2 separate regions of the Homo sapiens genome follow, and region 2 is linked to region 1. Evidence: promoter capture Hi-C in human tissues and cell types (Jung and others, 2019). All regions are on one chromosome and are shown on one strand. The core of a region is centred on a gene start or on the middle of the fragment in contact, and the rest is flanking DNA. Distances in the headings are between cores, read along the strand shown. Region 1 holds the start of ABI1 (abl interactor 1). Region 2 has its middle 4.0 kb from the start of LINC03028.

Region 1 (4,686 bases), core at 927-3,426:
CACTGGGCTGTCATACACTTTTAAATGACCAGATCTCAGGAGAACTCACTCGAGATCATAAGGAGAGTTCCAACAGGATGCTGCATAACCATTCGTGAGAAATCTGCTCCATGATCCACTCCCGCTTCCCCCAGGTCCCAACTCCAACATTAGGGATTACAATTCAACATGAGATTTGGCAGGGATGCAGATCCAAACCATATCAATCAGTAACCTAGGAAACTTGACGGCATTTTCAGTGCCCTTAGCTAAACTCCTTAACCTATCTAAGCTTAAATTTCCTTATTTGATAAGGAAGGAAAATAATATTTATATTATCTGTCTCTCAGAGTTGTGAGAAGAAATCTGACAGTACTTTTTATTTGTATTTATCATCATCATCATTATTATTCATTCATTGCTCAACTGCATGGACAGTACGTTGAAAATAGTAAATTAGTATCACCTCCCTAATCACTTCCCCAATGTTGTTGAAATGTGTCAATATTTGAATATATACAAACTGAGTGATTTCTACAGTTAAACCTCAAGTAGAGACCAAGATCAATAATACATTAAATTTTAATAACTTGGATTAAGTCGTGTTTGGGTTAACGATAAATATCAAAAGATAACTATTACACCTATTCCAGATAATAAATGTATTACTTTCCATAATATCTGGAATAGGTATAATAGTTATCTTTTGATAGATTCCTTGATGGAGAATCTGGTGGCAAGGGGAAGTTAACGTTTTTAGTAGGAAACTGAGTTTTTCCTTTCAGAGGTCGAAGAGGGAAACTGGTTCCCTGGGGCCCTGAATAAGGCCCCAGTAAAGGCAATATTCAATAAATACCTGGTGCTGGCAATTTTTAATTTGGTTGAGTGATGTTTTTACTCCTAGTTATTTTGATTCTAAATGACTTTATGGAGATACATGAACATATGTCCAAAGTCTTTGGACAACACTTTTCATAGCTGATTATATCCGAAGCATTTAATGTTCCTGTTGAAGTGAAGAGCTTGAAATATAGGGCCTTTTGAGACTATTCCAAAGCAGGTGATAAAAACAAAACAAAACAAAAATCCAGGAGCAAAAAACGAAGGATCAGGGTGGGTGGCTCATGATTGTAATCCTAGCAGTTTGGGAGGTTGAGGCAGAAGGATTGCTTGAGGCCAGGGGTTCGAGACGAGCGAGGGCAACATAATTTGATCCCTGTCGCTATAAAAAATTAAAAAGCTCAGCCAGGTGTAGTGACCGACGCTTGTAGTCCCAGTTACTCTGGAGGCTGAGGCAGGAGGATCGCTTGACTTTAGGAGGTCTAGGCTGCAGAGACCCATGATTGTGCCCCTGTACTCCAGGCTGGGTAACAGTGAGATCCTGTCTCAAACAAGCAAACAACTCCCACCCCTAAAAAAACGTGCACATGACCTTAAAAGTGTAGGAAGATTACATGATAAGGAGAGTCAGAGAAAAGAGAAATTAGGACAGGAAAGCACTACAAGCTATGTATGTTTATTTTATAATTGAGTCTTTAAGGGTACGGAGTATTCGTACTCAACTTGTACCCCCAGTGTCTAGTACGCTGCTTGGTAAACAGCTGGCAATCAAGAAATGTTTGCTAAATTTTAAATGAATTGATGGGGGCGGAACTTCAGAAAGTAAAGCCTGACTCGCTTTATTTCTAAGAAGGCAGAGGAAGTAAAAATCTAGTTTTCCGTACTCTGTCCCCTTTTTAATCCTTCTCTGAATGGGTGTCCTTGATTCACTGACATTTCCTAATTAACCAAGTTCTGCCAAGTTTCACATGAAACTTGGGGAACCGATTTCATTCCCCCAGTATCACCCTGTGGCGCCACCTTCCGGAGCTGTGAGGAAACTCCGGACTTCCCCCCAACACCGCCCCCTCCCTCCACCCTCGGTCTCCGCTTTCTGCGCTCTGCCGCGTTGGTTTTCGGAGGTGTCTGGGCGCATGCGCTTTGGACGGGCCGCCTAGCCTAGGAGAGACTACAATTCCCAGAAGACAGTGCGAAAGAAAAAAAAAATCCCGCGGTCCGTGGGGGTGGGAGAAATAAACGCTCGCGAGAGAACGAGGTTCAGGCGGCTGCACGAAGGGGGTGGAGGGGGGCTGGAGAGAGTGAGGAGGAAGGGGAGGAGGTGCCGTCCCACAATACCAGGCGGGAGGGCGGGTAGGCGGTTTGTATCCGGGCTGTGAGGTGCTCGGAGCCTCGGCGGACCTTGCTGCCTCTGTCTCTTTAACGCGAGAGGAAGCGATGCAGAGGGGTGGAAAATGGCAGAGCTGCAGATGTTACTAGAGGAGGAGATCCCGTCTGGCAAGAGGGCGCTGATCGAGAGTTACCAGAACCTGACTCGGGTGGCAGACTACTGTGAAAACAACTACATACAGGTGAGGCGCTCTGGCGGCCGGCGGGCGCTGGCCGGGTCGAGGACCCGCCGGAGTGACCAGCCCACTGGGCGGGGTGGGGAACTGCCCTGACCTCAGCGGCTGCCACCAACCCGAGCCCCTACCGCAGCCCCAACCCCAGCCCCAACCGGGGACAGAGCGAGTGGCCGGGCTGAGGGAGTCGGGCTGCGATACAGGAAGTGGCTGTGGTGGTGGAAACCGATAGAAGGGGAGAGAGAAAATGGGCGAGGGAGCCGGGAGCCCGCCGCTGCCGCAGCCCGGCGCCCCCCTCGCGTCCGCTTCCCCCAGGGCCCGGCCACCGGGGTCGCGCGCCCCCCAGGTAGCCTCCAGTCCGCAGGGCTGGAGTCCCGGAATACCCCCGAGCTGCCGCCGCGCCGCCTCTCTGCGCCGGGAGAGGAGGTCCAGGACGGGAGAGGGGAGAGGAGAGGGCAGGGACGAGGCTGAAGCCGCAGAAGGGAGAGGACCAGCGGGGTGTGTGTTGTGTGTCGGCGGAGGGTGGGGTGGGGGCGATTATGTCAGTTTCAGCCCCCAGAGGGTGTGTCTTTTATTTATTTATTTATTTAAAAAAAATTTGTCATGAGTCACATTACACCGACCTCCCGGAGGAGAGGAGGAAGCGGGTGTGGGGAGTGAGGGAGGGCGTTTGAGAGAAGTTCATCTTAAAATTCCTTTAATTGAAGGTTTGTAAATCTGTCTGCTTGTCCATTTTCAAGTCGGGTTTTTTTTATTTTTTTCCCCCTCTCATCGTTTTCACTTCCGCCCCACCATAATGTATTCTAAGAGGTTGTTAGGGCTGCTATCATTAATTATCAAACACGAATTGTTCTTAACTCCTTGGAAAAACGGCTTACCCTCCCTTCTCCCAAAAGTTCTTGAGCTGTAGGCTTCATAAGTAACTTAAAATAGACTGGTGTCATCGCCGGTTGCTTATTTTCTGAGGTTTCTCTCTTAACAAGCTAAGTAAATGTATAGTATGTGAATCCAAATACAGAAACGAACAGAGGTAGCCTCTGAACTACAACGTAAAAATATCTGTTATTGTAAATTAGAAAACTCTTGGGACTTTGTGACAGATGCTTGTTTGTTCGTTTCTCTTTGGATGATTGGAAGTGAATTGTGTGTGGTAGTTTGTTTTGAAGATCTTTAACTGTGTAAACCAACAGTTTGCGCTAGAAACAAAGTAGCACAGTCCTTTGTATAAATATAAAGGCACCAGGAATGCTCTTGCTTTTGGTAAGGCAAGGCCAAAACGTGCTTTGAAAGGTTAGGGTTATTGCAATTCAGAACTAAATTGTTTATAGAAATGTCTCCCATGTGATTATAATTTTTAAGAACCGATGTTTCTGTGTTGGCAAATGCTTCCCCTCTTTATTTTTAGAGGGAGATGCTGTTTTCAGAATGTTTTGAATATTTCTCAGTTTTCATGTTAGTAACATTGTATCTTCAGTAGCACTACTCGGAATTTATCTTCACAATTTTTTTTTCAAGCTTTCACTTTAGGAATTCTCCTGATAAGTGAACTTGTTGAATGCCTGCCACATCTACTGTATCACTTTGTGCAAACTTTATATTTAGCCCTTCGAAAAACTTTTAAAAATCTAGTAGGGATGTGGATATGGTTTGCAAATATAAAAGTGATCTCGTAGTTTATCGATATTAAAAATAGGCAACTTTTATTCAACTTAACATGAAAAGCCTTGAAATTGAGGAGAACCTTAATTTGCTGAAAGTTTTAAAGATTTTTGAAAGCCAAAAGGAGAGCACAGTAAGTTTAATTTCTCGCTTTCCAGAAAAGTTATGTGTTCTCTGTAGAAGTCAGTAGATAAGTGCTTCATACAGGGGTGGCTCCTTTTTGTTTTGCATGTTGGGAAATCTGACAAGTATATAGTGTGGTAACTATGTGTTGGCAACTGTTAGTAACTGTAAACGTGTTTTAACCTGTCTGTGTACTATTACTTTTTCAGGTAGTTGTATGTTGTAATGCTTTTTTTTTACCCCTCTCTGACCCCTTTCCTTTACTCCTCTTGCTACAATCATGTAACTTTGAAGCACTTTAAAACTTCATTGCTAATATCTCTAATTAAGTCATGTTATTTTTCATACAGTCTCTCACTTTATAAAATGTTAGTGCCATGGTGCACGAATAGCCACAGTCAGTGGCCCCGTTTTTTTTTTTTTTTTTTTTTTTTTTCTTTTTTTGTGGGGGCGGGGTGGGGTATAATCCTAAATCTGACACCAGTGAGGTGTTTTGTTCATATTGGAAAAAAAAAAAAAGAATTCA
Region 2 (4,686 bases), core at 1,198-3,697, 290 kb after region 1:
AGAATAATCTGTTTAAGAAATTATTTTTGATCCTCCACATTTTGATGCCAATCCCACATTTGGTAATAATGATTATATATGCAAATATTTTTAGCCGATTAAATTGGAACATATTCTTTGAAACAACTTCATGATGATTTTTGTTCTAATCAGTAAGTTTAATGGAATAATAAGGTATTTTTGATAAAGCACGTGAGTTATTCTCAATGATTACAAGATCTTACGACATTGTAATCAAAATGGATCATTAGAGCCTGGCTTGGTGGCTCATGCCTGTAATCCCAGCACTTTGGGAGGACGAGGGAGGTGGACCACCTGAGGTCAAGAGTTCAAGACCAGCCTGGCCAACGTGGTGAAATCCCATCTCTACTAAAAATACAAAAAAAAAAATTAGCTCGGTGTGGTGGCGGGCACCTGTAATCCCAGCTACTTAGGAGGCTGAGGCAGGAGAATTGCTTGAACCCCGGAGGCAGAGGTTGCAGTGAGCTATGATCACGCCATTACACTCCAGCCTGGGCAACAGGATTGAAACTCTGTCTAAAAAAAAATGGATTATTAAATATTGATCTAGTATTTACTGTAAACTCAGCACTTTGGGGTATATCAGTGCTGTATTTAGTTTTATTATGCTATATTTAGTTTTATTATGCTCCTAGAGATTTTTTTATCTCTATCATAGAATTTTCAAACATTTACTAAGGTAGAGAAAATTTTAATAGTTTAATGAACCTAATTTACCATTTAATCAGCTTACTAACAATTAATACATTGCCAATTTTGCTTCATCTACACCTCCACACACTTTCTCCATATTCCTCTTTATTGCCTTAATTGAAGTATAATATACGTATCCTCAATTTTTTGGAAATTCAGACATTGTATCATTTCCTCTACAAATATTTCCATATGCATATCTAAATGCTAATGACTTAGAACACAAACAGTCCTTGACATCATATGACCTTGAGGCAAATTAGCAATAACTCTTAATGTATCAAATGAAGTATTCAGTCAGTTTTCAACATTTTCCTATTGTCTTGTAAATTATTATCATCAGCATTATCTTATAGTTATTTTATTTATTTATTTATTTGTTTATTTTTGTGACGGAGTCTCACTCTGTTGTCCAGGCTGGAGTGCAGTGGCGCAATTTCGGCTTACTGCAATTTCTGCCTTCTGGGTTCAAGTAATTCTCTGCTTCAGCCTCCCAAATAGCTGGGATCACAGGCGCCTGCCACCATGCCTGGCTAATTTTTGTATTTTTAGTAGAGACCGGGTTTCACCATCTTGGCCAGGCTGGTCTTGAACTCCTGACCTCGTGATCCACCTTCCGCAACCTCCCAAAGTGCTGGGATTACAGGTGTGAGCCACCGTGCCCAGCCTCTTATGGTTATTTTAATTGGGATTTGAATAAGGAGTATACATTAAAATTAGATGATAAGACGTCTTAAGCTTCCTTTGATATCTTTGAGTATATCACCTACATGTGTCCCTACATCTTTTTTCACTTGCACTCCATTGGTTCCTTTAGTTTCGATTGAAGAAACCAGATTATTTATCCTGTGGTATTTCAACATTCTGCATTTTTCTGATTGCATTCTGTGGTATTATTTACTGAACCTGTGATATAGTTTGGATGTCCCCTCCAAATCTCATTGATATGGTTTGGCTCTATGTCCCCACCCAGATCTCATCTTGAATTATGACCCCCATGTGTGGAAGGAGGGACTTGTGGGGAGGTGATTGGATCATGGGGGCCGTTCCCCCATGCTGTTCTTGTGATAGTGAGAGAGTTCTCATGACATATGGTAGTTTAATAAGTGTCTGGCATTTCCTCTTCGCTCTCTATCTCCTGCTGCCATGTAAGATGTGACTTGCTTCTCCTTCACCCTCTGTGATGATTGTAAGTTTCCTGAGGACCCCCAGCCATGCATAACCATGAGTCAATTAAAACTTCCTTTATAAATTACCCAGTCTCAGGTAGTTTCTTTATAACAGTGTGAAAATGTACTAATATACTCATGTTGAGATACAATCCCCAATGTTGGAGGTGGGGCCTTGCGGGAGGTGTTTGGGTCATGGGGACAGATCCCTCATAACTTGGTGCTGTCCCACTGATGGTGAGTGAGTTCTCAGGAGATCTGTTGTTTCAAAGTGTGTGGCACCTCCCTAGCTTGCTCTCTAGTCCCAGTCTCTCCATGTGAGAAGCCTGCTTCCACTTTGCCTTCTGCCATGAATGGAAACCTCCAGAGGCCTCCCCAAAAGGTGAGCAGATGCCAGCACCATGCTTCCTGTAAAGCCTGCAGACCTGTGAGCCAATTAAACCTTTTTTCTTTATAAATGACCCAGCCTCAGGTATTTCTTTATAGCAACAGAAAAACAACCTAACACAGCATGTGTCTGTGCCCCCTGTATTTCTGTAAATATAGAGCTTCAGTCAGATTCAGAATTGATTTATTTGTCAAAAATAATTGAAATACCGAGCAAACATCTGCCTCAGTGAATGGCCACTATTTCTTCTATAACTACATTTATGTTCCATTTGAATTTCACTTTGTGTTATCCCTTTTTTCTTTTTTTTTTTTTTTTGTTTGCAGTTTCATGTTTGTTGACCACTTCCCTCTTTTGATTGTTCATTTTTGTAAAATGTCACGTGAGCGTCTCACTGGGAGACAAAGAGGCAAGACAACGACATACTTTGTTCTCTTTATAAACTCAGTAACAAATATGCAGTGATTGGCAACCTCATAATTTGAAAGAGATGATGGGTCACTGATCATGATTGCATCTGTTATTTATGTTGTGATTTGTGGACTGAAGAGCTCACACAAAGTTTGTACTTTACGTAATTACTCACAGTTAAAATACCATGGCAACTGAATTTGGAACCATGTTGGGGAACTCACGTTATTTAATTAAATCGTAGTTATTGGAACTAGGTGGAGCAGTGATGACCTGCACCTCTTTTTTCCTGATGTTTTCTTTTATATCTGCAATAAACATTTACAGTTTTCCTTATAGACTTTGAAATTGTCTATCAATTCTAAAAATATTTTAGTTCTTGTTGCTCTTCTGAATCACCCTTTATACTACATTTTACAAATGAGCTTCACTGATATATAGTACACAGGACAGTTTTTAGTTTCTCTACTTAATAGCTTTTAATGGATTGCTTGACTTGGTTTTTAAATTTTAAGTAGATACATCATCTGAGAATTTAAAAGTCTGTCTTTTCCATTCAGATATTTGTTACCTTGTTGGTTTTGCTGTTGTGTGCATTGGCTAGAGACTCCAGGATAATGTTGAATAATATTAATTATAATACTGACTTTAATGGTGTATTAGTCTTGTCTCTTATTTTCTGAATTTGATGCTTTGAAATCTGGGCCTTGTTGACCCTGGAGGGACTGCCCCTCTGAGGATAGGCTAATTGCTGGATGTAATAAACAACTTGCCTGCATGCATGACTTTCCTATATAATCCAACCAACCCAGAGTTTATACCCCCTTCTTTCTCATCTCTTCCTCACTCTTTATTCTTCTTTATCTCTGTTTATCTCTTTTGCAGTCTTTATTCTTCCTTATCACTCTGACATTTCTGGCCACTGTTCTGCCTCTCTAATTTCCTCAGGGCCAGATAGCAGCCTCTTCTTTCCAGAAGACAATGAAATATTTAAACTAGCCAATGCTAAGCCTGATTGCCCTGACTTGCTTGTTCCCTCCCATGGAACTGCAATAAAGATTCTTTCCCATGTTTTCCCCCATTCACGTTGCCTCCTGACTGACCTTGATGTTTCCCTGTCCTCCCCCTTGTGGTGTGCTGTGCCCACAGCTTCTAAGGAACTGTGAGTAGTAAAATAAACTACTTCCCTCATGACAGTCATTTCTGTGTTTGTGTGTCTTACCGTTACTGATTAAAACAAATTCTGGGTAGTATGAATGTAAGTGACATTTCTGTTTGTGCTTTATTATTAAATATGTCCTTTGCTGTAGGTTTCAGACACCTTTCATCAGTATAAAAACATCTTCCTCAGATGCTAGCTTCTTATGAAGTTTTAAATTTTGTTAACAAGCAGTGGTGTTGAATTTCATCAAAAGCCTTTTTGATATTTATTGAAATAATTATTTGATTTTTCTCCTATGAGTTTTTCCAATAAAAAATGATACTGATTGAACAATAGGTTAAAATTAAAGTTTCATCAAAGACCGCCAGAATATAATAGCTCTGAAAGTCCAAATCACCATACGTAGGTTTTCATAGCAAATATCCGAGAACCTGCTCCACAACTGTTAATTTCCCCTATTTACTTTAACAATATGAAAGGATGTAGAGTGGAGAAGACTGCAGGGAACTCTTGCCTTGCACTCTCCCCTATCTTGCCTTTGATAGTCATATGTATGGAGAGGAAAATAATGCAAAGTCTCAACCCTGGGTTTAGAGGAGGAATCCTTAGGGGGCCGCCAGGACAACTGACCAAAAAACTCTGGGAACTAACAAGCAGTTATAGCAAGGATGCAGCATACAGGGTTAATGTAGAAAAGTCAATTGCAATTGCTCTTTTAACACCAGCGATGAGCAATTGGAAGTTGAGTTAAAAATATACCATTATGTTCACATTCCTCCCTGCAAATGGAATACTTAGGTATAAATCTAACAAAATATATAAAAGATCTAGTAGGAAACCTA

What was found. Contacts are between HindIII fragments. The study calls those that stand out against the background at their distance.
Region 2: a fragment that was not itself captured here is called in contact with the fragment with the promoter of ABI1 in region 1 in 2 of the 25 tissues and cell types used here (dorsolateral prefrontal cortex and spleen).

What each region holds. Positions count from the first base shown.
Region 1 is chr10:26,858,448-26,863,133 of GRCh38, reverse strand. ABI1 (abl interactor 1) reads left to right here and starts at 2,176. Exons shown (of 11, transcript NM_001012750.3): 1 at 2,176-2,387. The coding sequence starts at 2,271. RefSeq lists an enhancer at 1,934-2,133 and silencers at 2,454-2,543, 2,654-2,803. The HindIII fragment of the contact is 8,705 bases long and covers 1-4,686 here.
Region 2 is chr10:26,572,997-26,577,682 of GRCh38, reverse strand. No RefSeq gene overlaps it. Among named protein-coding and RNA genes, the nearest start is that of LINC03028, 4.0 kb to the left of the region's middle. The HindIII fragment of the contact is 4,216 bases long and covers 340-4,555 here.